Linked DNA regions of Homo sapiens: regions 1, 3, 4 and 5 are each linked to region 2. Evidence: promoter capture Hi-C in 16 types of primary human blood cells and fetal thymus (Javierre and others, 2016). All regions are on one chromosome and are shown on one strand. Each heading gives the region's core, a stretch centred on a gene start or on the middle of the fragment in contact. The rest is flanking DNA. Distances are from core to core; before and after follow the strand shown. Region 1 has its middle 200 kb from the start of FMR1NB. Region 2 holds the start of AFF2 (ALF transcription elongation factor 2). Region 3 overlaps AFF2 (ALF transcription elongation factor 2). Region 4 has its middle 230 kb from the start of FMR1NB. Region 5 overlaps AFF2 (ALF transcription elongation factor 2).

What was found. Contacts are between HindIII fragments. The CHiCAGO score rates a contact against its expected background, and 5 or more counts as called.
Region 1: a contact is called between a fragment that was not itself captured here and the fragment with the promoter of AFF2 in region 2, in 4 of 17 cell types (naive CD4 T cells, activated CD4 T cells, total B cells and 1 more). The highest score is 7.7, in naive CD4 T cells.
Region 3: a contact is called between a fragment that was not itself captured here and the fragment with the promoter of AFF2 in region 2, in 1 of 17 cell types (neutrophils). The highest score is 9.0, in neutrophils.
Region 4: a fragment that was not itself captured here is called in contact with the fragment with the promoter of AFF2 in region 2 in 1 of 17 cell types (naive CD4 T cells); the score reaches 6.2 in naive CD4 T cells.
Region 5: a fragment that was not itself captured here is called in contact with the fragment with the promoter of AFF2 in region 2 in 1 of 17 cell types (neutrophils); the score reaches 6.5 in neutrophils.

Annotation. Positions count from the first base shown.
Region 1 is chrX:148,184,493-148,187,262 of GRCh38, reverse strand. No RefSeq gene overlaps it. Among named protein-coding and RNA genes, the nearest start is that of FMR1NB, 200 kb to the right of the region's middle. The HindIII fragment of the contact is 1,466 bases long and covers 709-2,174 here.
Region 2 is chrX:148,499,207-148,501,906 of GRCh38, reverse strand. It overlaps AFF2 (ALF transcription elongation factor 2), which reads right to left and starts at 1,290. Exons shown (of 21, transcript NM_002025.4): 1 at 763-1,290. The coding sequence starts at 809. RefSeq lists an enhancer at 1-630. The HindIII fragment of the contact is 5,176 bases long and covers 1-2,700 here.
Region 3 is chrX:148,809,821-148,812,619 of GRCh38, reverse strand. It overlaps AFF2 (ALF transcription elongation factor 2), which reads right to left. Exons shown (of 21, transcript NM_002025.4): 4 at 2,700-2,744. Among named protein-coding and RNA genes, the nearest start is that of AFF2, 310 kb to the right of the region's middle. The HindIII fragment of the contact is 1,944 bases long and covers 547-2,490 here.
Region 4 is chrX:148,213,318-148,216,017 of GRCh38, reverse strand. No RefSeq gene overlaps it. Among named protein-coding and RNA genes, the nearest start is that of FMR1NB, 230 kb to the right of the region's middle. The HindIII fragment of the contact is 8,090 bases long and covers 1-2,700 here.
Region 5 is chrX:148,827,578-148,830,277 of GRCh38, reverse strand. The region is part of intron 4 of AFF2 (ALF transcription elongation factor 2); the gene reads right to left. Among named protein-coding and RNA genes, the nearest start is that of AFF2, 330 kb to the right of the region's middle. The HindIII fragment of the contact is 990 bases long and covers 897-1,886 here.

The DNA of each region.
Region 1 (2,770 bases), core at 192-2,691, 310 kb after region 2:
TTGCAGAGTGCCCACTATGTGCCAGTAGGTATGTGTGTGTGTGTGTGTGTGTGTGTGTGCGTGCGTGCATGTGTGTGTGTATAATTGTCTTTATTTTACAGGTGAGAAAAATGAGGATGAGAGAGGTTTAATGTTTTGCCCAAGCTTACACATCTGCTAGTAGTAACTGGTAGTATTAATAGGAGCTAGGAGTAGAGCTGGAATTCCAACCCAGGTCTCTGTGACCTCAATGCTTGTGCACTCACTACTCTACTCTTTTCCTCTTCCCCACCATCACCCACGTCCCTTTATGCTGTTTCCATCCTATAATTTCTGCGCTTTTGTGGGATATATCCTGCTTTGGTTACTTCTAATCTGCCTGATAATTAGGATTGATAGATTGAATGCTCAGTACCATGAGGAAATAATACACTGGGATGCAACAGAATGCCCAGTTTTGATTTCTGTTTATGTTAGTGTTATCAATGGAAAAGAGTGAGAGAGGGAAAATACACATGTTAAGCTAGCAATCACAAAAATCAAGCATATACGCCAAAGTCCTCTAGGTTATTTTACATGACAAGCTATGGTATTAGTAATTCTTCATGAATGTATCTGTAATCTAGGTGCATAAACATTTGGGGGAAATGAAAATGACTGATGTGAACTTTTAAACACCATCCCATATTTAAGACACTACCATGGTCTGTATTATACAACAAGAAAGCTTTCTAACCTCAGCCCTGCCTCTGTTCCTAAATCTCCAAAAACTCTTTCTGTGTTTCTATGTGGCATAGGTAGCTGTATTTCCCTTATGTCTCATATACCTAACCTGTAGTGTAGTTTGAAACACACAAAGGTGTAATAACACTATTCTGGAGTCAAGCCATGCACTGCAGCCCAGACATGAAAGAGAACACTGGATAATAAATGACTCGTTGTGGTCCATCTTGTCTTTGGTTGAAAATAATCCTTCAATAAAGAAATAACAGGTGATACATGAGACACACACTTAACTAGGATTAAAATCTCTGTTTCCAGCAGATAAATTCTTAAAATGTTGTCGATAATCAGAGATAGAGTTAGCTGGTTGTTTCCTAAATGTCATCTTTAATAATAGAGCATCATAAGCTAGCATCATGTGTCTTTTGGTTTTCACATAATTTAGAATAAAGTTTGGAGCTGCAGAAAACTGACATCAGGGGATGACATGGGAAATACTGATTATTTTTCTGGCCAAGGAGTAATTTTGCTCCTGATTTTCTGTATTCCCATTCCAAAGTTGGAATGAATAAAGAAACAGAAAGAAAAGCCTTAATTGACAATATAATGCCCACAAGCATCAACAGATGTGATCCCTTGTAATGAAGCATGTGGGTCTAATTTGGCATCACTAACCACTTGGAGGATCTCCTTGCTGAGTTCTTGCAGGCTAGCCTTCTAAACCTATGTTTGGCTGGCACCTGTGCCCTGTTGAAACTGGCATACCACTCTATGGGTGGGCACAGTGCCACCCTAACAGATGGCCATAAGAGTCATCATGCCAGAGAACTACTATTGTTTATAGCAAGTTTAGCTTAACAGCAATTGGCACCTGCTAAAGAATGACAAAATGGTGGCCTACCTTTGTGAAAGATAAACTATGACCTAAAATGGGCATGTCTGAAATTGGTATTTCGGAGTCATTTCACATACTCAATGAAGACCTCTAAGAGAGGAAGTGGCACTGCAACAATGTTGTATCTGTACTAAGGTGCTAGCAAAAGGAGGTAACAACACTTTTCAAGGTTCTACAATAAATTCAACATCCTAGTCTCCTAGAGCCAATAAATAATTCAAATTCAACATCATTAGAAGTAAAAATTTAAAACATCAACCCTTGAATGAACTTTCTGCTTGGTCACCTACCTAAAGCTACTCTCATTGATAAGACTCACTTGTTTCATTATCAATGCCTAAGTGATTTGTGAACATTTTTTGAGGGAGAACATTTAATTTTAAAACTCACATATTTATAAATAATGGTTGAAAATGTCAGATATAACTAGACCCCCAAACTGGGAGGGAAACCATGATTATAGGATGGAGTATACAGAGGTTAGTAGTAGCTGAAGGACACAATGTCTAACCCCAATTAACACTAAAATTTGTGTAGGCCTGTTTAGAGTCATCTAAAGGGAAAATAAAAGGAAGCTTAACTTTTATGAGCACCTACTTTGTGTCAAGGACTGTGGGATATACTTTGCATCCAGTTCTTAACTTTTCACAATTCTGTATACATATATTTCAGATTCCACAGTTTATTTAAAGAACACTAGCTCCCCAAGAGCACAGTTCAGATTTCAGTTCTCACTGTATACTGTGAATAACTGCATTAAGTACAAACCTCACTGCTGGCTCTTCAGTCTACAAATCTACTATGTAATAACAATGTGCATCATGACTAGTGATCTATTTCATCACTTCTTTCAATGTCTGCCAGTGATTGGTCACTAATCATCTGTTATTCAGTTCATACACATATGGCAAGATGTGTAACTGTGTTGTCCCCTTGTCTCTCAGTGACACATCCATGACATTTTATGAAATAGATATATATCTATAAAAGTTATATTTTTTTCAGTATGTGACACAGCCTCTTAAATTAGAGTATTTCATTAAATACAATCAATAATTACAGCCTAGTATATGTGGTAATTTAGTATATGATAAAAATCACTTGGGAAAAGACAAAATAGTGTTTAATATATGATATCTGATCAACAAGATGGCAATTTTGAGAAAAATCAAG
Region 2 (2,700 bases), core at 41-2,540:
GAGCTGGAGGTCCCTTACAAAAAACTACGGCTGCCTCCCAGTGGGAGGCCGAAGGGGGTCCATCCGGTAATTAAATGTGCATTGACATCAGAGCTGCGGATTTGGGGGGCCAACTCCGAAAACCCTCAGTCTTGAAAGCCAAGCGCCGAAGTCGGCCTCGAACCAAGGTCCCCTGAGTGGTGGCCCCCAAAGCCGCTGCTCCACCCGGGAGTGCAGGGAACTTGGGCTGAGTCGGCAGAAGGAAAGGTGTGCGCGCCGCGCAGCGCAGGGATGGAGGTGGCGGCAGCGGGGGCGGTGGCCACCAAGGAAGCAGAGGGCTGCTGGCCGCACCTGGCCGTTGCCTTTCCCCCATGGCCCGCCGCGGGCGTTGGGCACCTGGAAAGTTGAGACATTTCGGGCGGGCGGCATCCGGGGCTCAAGGAGGCCAGACCGGCAAGCCGCTCCGAGAGAAAAGCTCCTGGGAGGTCGTGCGGTTCAGCCCTCGGGCGGCACCGAATTCGATGTGAGCCAAATGCAACTCTTTAGACTTGGAGCGCAAAGCGACGCTTTCGGGTCCGCATCCCTCCCTCTTCCCGCACCTCCCCCCACCCCGGCATCCGACCTAGGAGTCAGCGCGGCCGGGGCCAGAGGTGGCTGAGAGCAAGTGGGAGGGAGTCCGGGGCGCCCCCCACGACAGCTTCAGCTCCTCTTAACAAAGGCGAAAACCTCAGACTTCGCCAGGAGACTCGCTCATCAAAGGAGAAGGCAAAAATCAACACCTACCACTGCTGCTCCAAGTCCCAGTCTCTGAAAAAGTCGAATAGATCCATAGCGGCCAGGCGGCGGCGGCGGGCGGGCGCCTGTCCCTGATCGCAGCGGGTCGGCGCGGCTCTCGGCACAGCTCGCTGGCGGTTCTCGGCGGCCCCCGGCTCTCCAGCCCTCCCGCCCAGCTAAAAGTGTCCGGGCCGCATCGGCAGCAGCAGCGGGCGCTGGAGGTGTCTGGTCCTGTGCTCCGGCGAGGAAGCGGCGGCAGTGGCACTGGGCGGGCAAGCGCCTGGTCGCCCACTCGGGTCCGCTCGGTCCGCGGTAGCCCGCGCACCCAGCGACCCGACGCTGCGGCGGCAGCCGCTGCGGGCTCAGGCGGGCTGGGCCGCCCGCCTGGCTGGCTGCGGGCCGGCGGCGGCAGCGGCGGCGGGGGCGGCCGGGGCAGAGGCAGCGGCGCGGCGCGGCAGCCGGGGCGGCAGCGGCGGCGGCGGCGGCGGCGGCGGCGGCGGCGGCGGCGGCGGCGGCAGCGGCTGCACAGGCGGCGGCGGCGGCCGCGGCAGCATCACACACTTACACACTCACAGGGGGCGGAGCCTGGACAGCTAGAAGCCGCGACATGGAGCAGGCACGTTATCATCCCCGGATCTGGCAGGGGCTCGCCGCGCCCGCCCCTGCCTTTCGGGAACCCTCTCCCACCCCCCACTGTCAAAATCAGCTAGTGGGAGCGGCCACAGAGCTGAGGACCCGGACCCGGACCCGGGACGCAGGGGCCGTGGCAGGGATACAGGAGGTGGGCTGGCGGGACCAGGACGCGGGCTTCGGGAATGGGACCCCTCTCTGAAGCCCAGCCCACCCCCACCACTGGGAATTAGTTTTGAACTAGAAAAGACAGCACAAACAGCCGTGGGGTTGAAGGTCGCCCCCTGCCACCTCAAGCACAGCTCCTTGAGCCCCCGAGTAGTGGAGCAAACTTTGCGGGCCTGAGCATCCCTCAGGTCTGTAGTGCGTAGCACGCGGGTCCAGGAAGGAGAAGGCGGTCACCTTCACCAGCCCCGTGGCTCCACGTGCCCGCACCCAGGCCCTCCAGGCATGCCTTTAGGCGCGCACCTAGTAGGTCAGCGAGCTATAGGCCCTGGATTCAGTGGGCAGCAAGGATAGGAACAAATGACTGCCCTTGCGTGGTCCTTGAGTTCGGGGTTAGGATACTGTTAAACTGGGTTCCACTGTCACTTTCCTCGCACGGTCACCAGGTGCCTTGAGCAAAAGACTTCTGCTAGCTCCTCCTCTGAGAAATGGGAAAACCACTGGGTGTGTGCCCAGTATCCCACGCACCGGCTGCCCGTCTCCCTTCTGGCCTGAAATTCTCTTTCTGCACGTGGAGGGTTTAACCGAGCCTCCTACTCCCTTCAACCTCCACCTCTGATCCAGGAAGGAGTGGATCCCTTTAGCCAATTCCCTGGAGGGAAAGGTTCCCTGGCCTCCGTGCAGAGAAAGGTCTGTGGGAAGGGGCGGGACCGCTTTCTGGCATTTCAGGACATGAGCATTCTGGAGTCCTAGGCATGTAATTTGCCTTCTTCGTGTCGTTATACAGAGGGAATAGTATTGGCACATTTTTCAAATCCTAAGGCTAGAACTCTCTTGGGAAGGACAGCAGACTGAGCCCTGACAGAGCAGGGTGCCGGTAGCTCTGTGTGTGACTCCAAGCAAGTCACTTATCTGGGCCTCAGTTTCTCCATAAAACACCCAGCAGCCCTCTGGCTCATACTTCTCTGACATTCTCCCTTCTATTTGAATATGCTTCTACAGTATTATCTCATATTACCAAAATCATCCAAATACCTTTTAACTTCATTTTTTTCCTGAAGAAACAGAGACCCTAAGACATTAAAATGCTCAAGATCTGATATTTCCCCTAGAGGGGGATCCCAGATTAGAACCTAGAACCTGGGAAGCTCT
Region 3 (2,799 bases), core at 269-2,768, 310 kb before region 2:
GGGAGGTGGGAAAGTTGGGAGAGCAAATGGACTCAGATTTTCATGGTGCAGATGCAAACAATGTGTATAATTTAAATATTCCTTCATTGGAGGTGGGTAGAGAGATGGGCGGGGTAATAACTAGCGCATGCTTCTAGATGAAGAAACTGAAAAGCAACACAGCTAGGAAATAAGGGAATCTCATGAGCAACTGGAAGCCAGCTCCTCCACTCCGGGGCTAGTGCTCCTTCCTCTGCATAGCTCCCCTCAGTGAGGAGAGATGACATTGTTTGGGCCTCTGCTTAGTTTGAAAAGCAGCGAGCATGGCCAGGAGAGGTAGGGAGAAAGATAAAATGTACTTTTCCCTAAGAAAGGGGTTTATGGGGAATGAGGTGACAAATTTACTGCGGAACCCGTCACAGGCCTCTAAGGCCCTCAAACCAAAAGGAACATGAATGTGTAATTAAGACAAAAAGCCCAACAAGCATGCTCTATTGTGACATGCAAGGTGGTCTATAAAAATTTAACAATTAGTCATAAAATTGGGGACGCAAATTTCAGAAAGCTTATTTTTATTCGAAGCATGGGGAATGAAACATTCTTTCTTTAATAAAGGAAGGCCCACTCATTAACAGCGTTGTTGGAAAAAAAAAAAAAGAATTCTATACAATCTATAGCCCTTCAAAAAAAAGAGACATTTCTCTAGATTCTCTTTCAAGAATAACAGAAGGACTTTTGTTACTTTCTCAAAGCATGTTATCTTTTGTGAGCCTATTAAGGCAACCTGCTTCTTTTCTTTCCATGTGTAAGTGAAATTCTGTTGTTTCTCTAAGTGGCTCCTTTAGGAGACTGGTGTCGCCAGCCTCAGCCAGGTGTTCACCCTCCTTCCTGCATTTAGTCACATAACCACCTAGGCACCAGGGCTGGGTTGCTTTTAAGTATGTAATTTCGATTGTGACAAATTAGTGAGATTTTGAGATATGCCTGGCATTCCTTTGGGAGTTTATAAAAAGGCCACTGAGTTTATTTATGCTTGTGACTCGGAGAAGAAAGGAATAACAAGGTTACTATCTAGAGCAGAGTAAGACATTTCTTTCAATGTTATTACCTTCTGTTAAGGAAGGCTGTTGACAAGTGAGCAAGGACTGAATGTATTTTCCCAATGGGAAAGGCCTGAGTTCCCAGTGTGCATTCCTTTTGTGGTGCTCATAACAGCTGCCTCGTCTCCACCCAAAACGTCGGGCCCCTGAGACAGATGACTGAGGGGTTGCTGGGTTCTTATCTTACCAAAGTAGTCAGCATAGTCCTAATCTAGCAGTCCCCAACCTTTTTAACACCAGGCACTGGTTTCATGGAAGACAATTTTTCCGCAGATGAGGGGGTAGGGAGTGGGAGTAGGGGTGGGGAGTTGGTTTTGGATGAAACTGTTCCACCTGAGATCATCAAGGCATTACATTCTCACGAGGAACACATGGTACCAGTCCATTGACTTGGGATTGGGAACCCCTGCCCTAATCCATATAGTCTCATCGTTGATCAAAGTGATATGACTGGCTCATCTCTTTAATAGTCAAGAACAATGTTCTTGGGCTGAAACAGGTGCACGAATGTGTACATCAGGTATACTCCGGGTGGCAAGCCATTTCAATGGTAAACAGCTTTTGGCTCTTGACTATTCCTTTGGCTGCATTTGCTCAGGGCTTGCTTCAAACACTGGGCTGCTGAGAAGGCACTTACTGGGAGAGGGGGATCAGGAGGGAGTTGGAGTGACTTTGGTAACTGAGGAAAGGGGGTGCCAAATTTTCACTGGCACATAGATTATTTTCTTTCCCAGATAGAAAGCCTTCATGGTTTTTACATGACTACACTGGTCATCATTTATCACAATAGCCAGCATTTATATACCACTTGGTAGCCTATAAGGGAGTTAGGGCAGGTATTATTGTCCTCTTTTACAGACGAGGAAAGGAGATTCAGAGAGATAAAGTCATCTGTCCAAGGTCACAGAAGTGACAAATGGTAGAGCCAGGACAGGAGCTCAGGAGCTCATTACCATGACTCCTATTCTTGAGATTCCATACTGCCTTATGATGCCAATGGCCAGAGAGAGCAGACAGATATGTTTTTCTTGCTTAACTTTGGTTTCTTCTTTTGGTTTGATTGTTTACTTCAGAAGAGATTATAGCCATTCTTTCAACTTTGTTCTGCCCTCAAGGCATTCACACACATACACTCACTTCCATAAGTAACACTTTCCACAACATGCCATCATTTTCAAGTCTCTCATCTTCTCCTCCTCTCCCATTCCCACATCTCTTCCCCTTATTATAGGCCACAATCAATCTCGGTAACCATGTTCCACATAGTGGGCGGCAGCAGTGAGATTGAGCTGAGATCCCAGAAAGGTAAAAGGCAAAGGTTTAGGGTATGGTGCTTGAACAGGGAACGTTTCCTAAAGAAGGTGGTAAGTCTCTGTCTGAGAAGGATGTAGGAATGGATAGGGCAGAAGCTTAGTGATATTAGAAGACTAGCTTGATTACAAAATGGAAAGAAGACAGGCAAGAAATGAGGCCACTGGAATAAGCAGAAGGGTCTTGAAGTAGAATATCAGGATTCCCCATCATGAAACTCCTTGAAACAGAACAGTAATTACTTTAAACAGCTTAAGCAGATAGATTGCTTCATTATTAAAAGGCACAAAAATAAAGGTTTAAACTCACCCGCAAGATTTCTTCAACACAGCTTGGATCACTGGGAAGGCTTACCTGAAACAAAATAAACAGAAAACATTAGGCACAATCTACTTCTTCTTCTTGTATA
Region 4 (2,700 bases), core at 94-2,593, 290 kb after region 2:
GTGAGGACAGACTCTGGAACCAGGTCAACATCATGCTAGCCTTGTGACCCAGGCAGGGCACTTTATTTTGCATCTTAGTGTTTCCATAGCTTTATCAGTGATGATTATAATAACACTTAATCATAAAGCTGTTGTGCGAATTACATGAGGGAATACATGTAAAACAATTGGAACTGTGCTTGGCTTGCAGTAAGTGCTAGATAAGTATTAGCTATTATTAATATAATCATGATTACTTCCGCAAGTCAAAGGAATTGCATATGATAGTACAGCCAAGTGCAGAACTCCATGATAGACCTCGCTCCATTGTTACACTGATCCATTAATCATCACGTAGTGGCTTCATCAGCCAGGAATTCACTTACCTGTACTTCTATTCAGTTTTCATTTCTCTGTCTTCAAGATGCCAGAGGAGAACATGACATCCCATTCTGCTCCCAGTAAACCCCAAGGTCTTCACTATGACTGAGCAACATTATGTGTCCCTTCCTCTCATCTCCTGCCATTGTTCTTTCCTCCTCTCTCCTTTCACTATCTTCCTGGCACGATCAGCTGTAGTCCTGCTGGCCTCCTTGCCACATTTCAAACACTAACATTTGTACTCTGGGACCTTTGCATTTGCTGTTCCTTCCATCTGGGATACTCTACCCAGATAGCCACATGACTTTCTCCCTTTCTTCCTTCAAGTCTCTGCTCATAGTCACTTTATTAGAGAGGCCTGCCCTGATTATCTTATATTAAATAATATCCCCCATCCCATCTCAGGCCCCACTGGCCAAGTATTCTCTAACCCCCAGCAATGACATCAGCAGATACATTATATTATTTACTTGATTGTTTTCTCTCTTTCCCACTAGAATGTCAGCTCCAAGAAACATGGGTTTTTAACTGTTTTGTCCACTGCTGTTTCCCCAGTGCCTAGAGAAGTGCCTGGCATGGAGTAGCAGATAGCAGCTATTTGACAAATATTTGTTGAATGAATAAATATCAAACACTGCAGAAAACCAGATGTATTACATCTATAACAATCTCCCGATCAAATGAGTCTAATAACAGACTTTGAAAACTCTTTTTAAATAGATGATTAAGGCATTAAGTTTAGTTTAGCATGACTTGCTCTCAGTGAACAAAAATTTTACACATAATAAAACATCTTTATTATTTTGTACAACAAAGTATATGAAGCCCTATTAAACACTACCCTGCTGCATTTGTAGATTTTGCTGCAGCCTCTGGCTCTGTCACAAGAAATCAGCTCTGGACAAATAGCCTTTCATCATCACTGATAGGCGTCTCTTAGTTCTGCTTCAACAGGTTCTCACCAGCACCCCAGATGAAATAAAGGTAGGAATTGCCAGTTCTTTGACCATGAGTGAAGCAAGGGCATACCTTAGTCCTGCTTCTATTCAACTTTTATCTTAATGACACACTTAATCTGGAAATCAGATTATAGGGCATTTCATTATCTCTGCACAAATTCTAAATTGCTGCTGTGTACAAGTAATAAACTAAGTTTTTGGCCTGCTATTATTATTCTGTTTATTTACTGTGTTGGCTGTCCCTAGTGACTTTTCTCCTTGTATACTTGTGTTCTCCTCCCATTCTCTGTCATTTTTAAAAAGTAAGGTAATCCTGGGCTCTGATCTGTCCTGCCGAGGTATTATTGGATAATGTTCCAGTTTGTTACTTGATAACAGAGTCCTAGAAATATTTGTAATAAATACTGCTGATAATCTTTGTTTACATTTTTAACATAAAATCAATAAAGTACAGTATAAGCAGTCATGAAACTTTTTCCTTTATAGTAAATATTTTATAAATACATGTCTTACTTTTGTTCTATAAAATCCAAGATAACAATCTAATATCAAAATTTCAAAAGCTATCTTGTGCAGTATTTTTCCTCCCTCAAGTGACCCTAGAAACATCTATCCCTGTGGTTGCCAATATTTTATTAAAACTTATAACCATTATAACCCTGGAATTTTTTCTTAATTTTTATGTAATTTTTTGTCCTCTTACAAGTTACCTTAATTCCTTTGTGAAATGAGGTATAATATAAATACATACAAAAATACTCACCCAGGAGCCCAAATATATATCTGCATAGAATAATTCACTTAAGGAATCATCATGAAATATTAATTATCCAAAAAAATTGATGATTGGGAGAGGGACAAATGACAATTTGATGGGCTCCATATTGTCAGTCAATTGATTGATACTGGGTATATAAATAGCTAGGTATTTATTTTAACTAAGCACTTTCCTGGAAATGACATGCTAAGATAGTAAAGGCCAAAGTTACTAAAGCCATAGGAGCCAGACTGAAGTTCTCTTGCACCAAAAGGGGCCAATTAATCGATCTTTCTCTAAAATTCTTCCATACTGTAATTCAGTGACCCAAATTCTATCTGCATAAAGGAATGGGGCTGCGATAATGAACAGAGTGCAAACCTGGAAACATTACAAAAGAGTTTTCTAAAAGCACTCTTATATTTACCCTCACCCTCACCTCTCCAGTACCTTGCAAACATTAATGTGGTCATTTTGGACTCACATCAGAATCTGTATTTGTGAGACCATAATAAAATACCTAAAGAAACTGTCATTTTTTCCCCCTGAGAACTAGATAACAAATTTATGTTGGGCTCAGCCTCATAATGGGGAGAACAAATTTCATAAATAATTTGTATTGTG
Region 5 (2,700 bases), core at 142-2,641, 330 kb before region 2:
TACTAGGCCCCCTCAGGCAGGCTTCGGAAGGACAGGGGCCCTTTGCTCAGGGTCAGGGAGCTTGGCTGTTCCAAACGAAATTCCCTTAGAGGGAAGTAGGGCATGTGGGAAGAACTACTGATCTTTTTCCTCTCAGGGCCCTCTCAGAGTGCTCTCCTGGATGTCCCATCTCAGTGGGGGCATGGGAATACTGCAATACCTCTAAGGGACAGCTATCTGAATGGTAAGAGCTTGGAAAGCTCATCTCATGTATACATAGACATTAAAGAAACAGGGAAAGTTTAGTCCACAGAAAAGGGAGAGTGAGGAGTGTCTTTAAATCCATGAAAGTCTTTCACATGAAAGAGATTTGAGACCTGCTTTGTGGACCAAGAGTTTAGGACTGGCTGTATGGGTAAAGTTATCAGGGGACCAATTTTAGCTCAAACTACTAAAGAATTTCCAATCATTTGAGGTTTCCAATCATGGAGCCTACTGTCTTAGAAGGCAGTGAGCAGTTCATCTCTGAAGGCGAAATGTCCTCTGCCTAGAGCAGTGAAAAGGGATTCCTAAAAGGTGGCGGAGTGGGTGTTGTGAATCATCTGTACTGCTTTACCTAATCAGATAATCATACACTTTACTTCTGTAAAGTCAAAGATATATATGAGAAGATGCAAAACTGAATCTGGAGCAGTTGTTTTGCATGACATATAAACACGGCTGACTAAATTGACTAAGGAAATTTGTCATTCTCCCAGGGATGGGGTGGGGGAAACATGCTGAGGGGAGCCTATTGTCTCACAGTGAGACAGCTAACAGCCCAATTTGTCTGATTGTTTGCTGAACTCTTAGAAAATCTAACAACAGTGGAACCATAGACTTTCCTAGGCTTGATCACTAGCCATTCCTGCCAAGCTTTTCTAGTGGTCAAAACTCTGTTCCATTCAATTGAATGAATATTCTTCTATTTGGAATGCTGTTAAGACAGTCTCCTGAGATTGCTCCTCTGATTTCCATGCAAGTGCTCATAGAGAGGAAGTGTAAAATCAACGGTTACATTAAACATAACTTCTTGGCCATGGCATAACAATGGGTCAATGCAAAATGCAATTCTTTTAAAAGTTTCTAACACTAACTTATGATTTAAATGGCATGGTATAAAAACCCTGGCGATGTTTCTTCAAATAAATAATGGAATTCTGTATTCAAACTCTTTAGTGCTGGCAGTTGTTTAAGGGAATCTGGAAATATTCTCCTTCGGATCCAGGAGGAGAATCTGTACATGCAAAAAGTTCAGCTCACATTGGCTGCCTTCATCCTGGCAGCCCCCAAACCAGGGTTCCATTGAAAAAGAGCCCTAATTATAATGTACAATTGGGAAGTATAGTGATCAGTATTCTGAATCTCCACTGTGTACTCAATCAGGCAATCAATCAAGCCATCTTCTTGCCATTGCCAGATGCAATCAATTCCATTTCACCCACTGAATACAACAGGAACATATATGACCATGTGCAGGGCCTATTCATGCAACTTTTTTTGGCCCAGTTACTCCTCGGGCATTCTACATTCAAACACTGCAAAGAAAGGTCTCCAAAGGTAAATACAAGGGAACAGAACACTATAGTGATATACTGGGCAGAATTCAACCAGACCTTTTTAGTTCAGCAAAAGGTTTCAGCAGCAGCAACCTCAGGCCACGGCCCATCCAACTAATGGTATTTGATTCCCTAAACACGATTGCCTTGTAAATTTTAATCTTTATTAAGACCTTTGTCTTTGTCTAAATTAGGTTGAACCAGTCAGAATAGAAGACTGAACACCCCACTAGGAAATGTTATCAGATTGAACAACACTGAATTGTTTGCCTTGTTTGGTACAGGCAAAATTAACACAATATCAAAGCTTAGAAATGTAAGAACTGGCCACTGAGAAAGTGTTCTGCAAAGAGCAGTATCAAAAAGGGAATCAAGGTAGAGGGCTTTTTCTAAGTGGTCCAGTTCAGGTATGTGAGGATTCTGGGGTTTCTTCAGGGCCAGTTCTTAACATTTCTAACCCTTGAAATTGTTTCTTACATTCTTAAGCTAATTTTGACATCAGATCATTGTAACTCTTTTCAAAAGTGATTTTTAATTGCAATGTTGAATTTCCAGCTCTTCTGTTTCAAATTATTTTGCCGTCAACTACATCCAATGACCATCACTTAAAATATACTGATTTGAGATAATTCGCGAGGCTTTCATAATACTACAGCCATGTTTTTTTTTTCCTTTCACAGTCACTTCAAAAGATGGAATGACATGCTATATCCTCACAGCATGAGATGTTTCTTAATGGTTACCTTCCAATTTGCTCCTTTAGCACCAGCTCAGGCAAACCAACTTGATAAAACTCACACACTTTCATTGGCTTCTCCTCCAGCAGCATTTCTAATAATCTATATTTAATTTCATTCATTCAGAAAACATTTATTGAGTGTCTACTCCTTGCAAGGTATCTGACAGCCAGGAGGCTAGACTAGGTCCCGGTACAGGGTCTGGTGGTACTCTCTGTAGCTAGAGTATTGATAATTGGAATGAGAGTAAGGTAATAACAATTACCAGTTACCATTCGAAGTAGAAATAAAATAAGCCCATCAAAGTTGATTTTTTTTAGAGAATAATGCACAATTTGTTATATGTTTCAGAAATTGCCAAAGGGATTTGTTGATTTCACATTGTT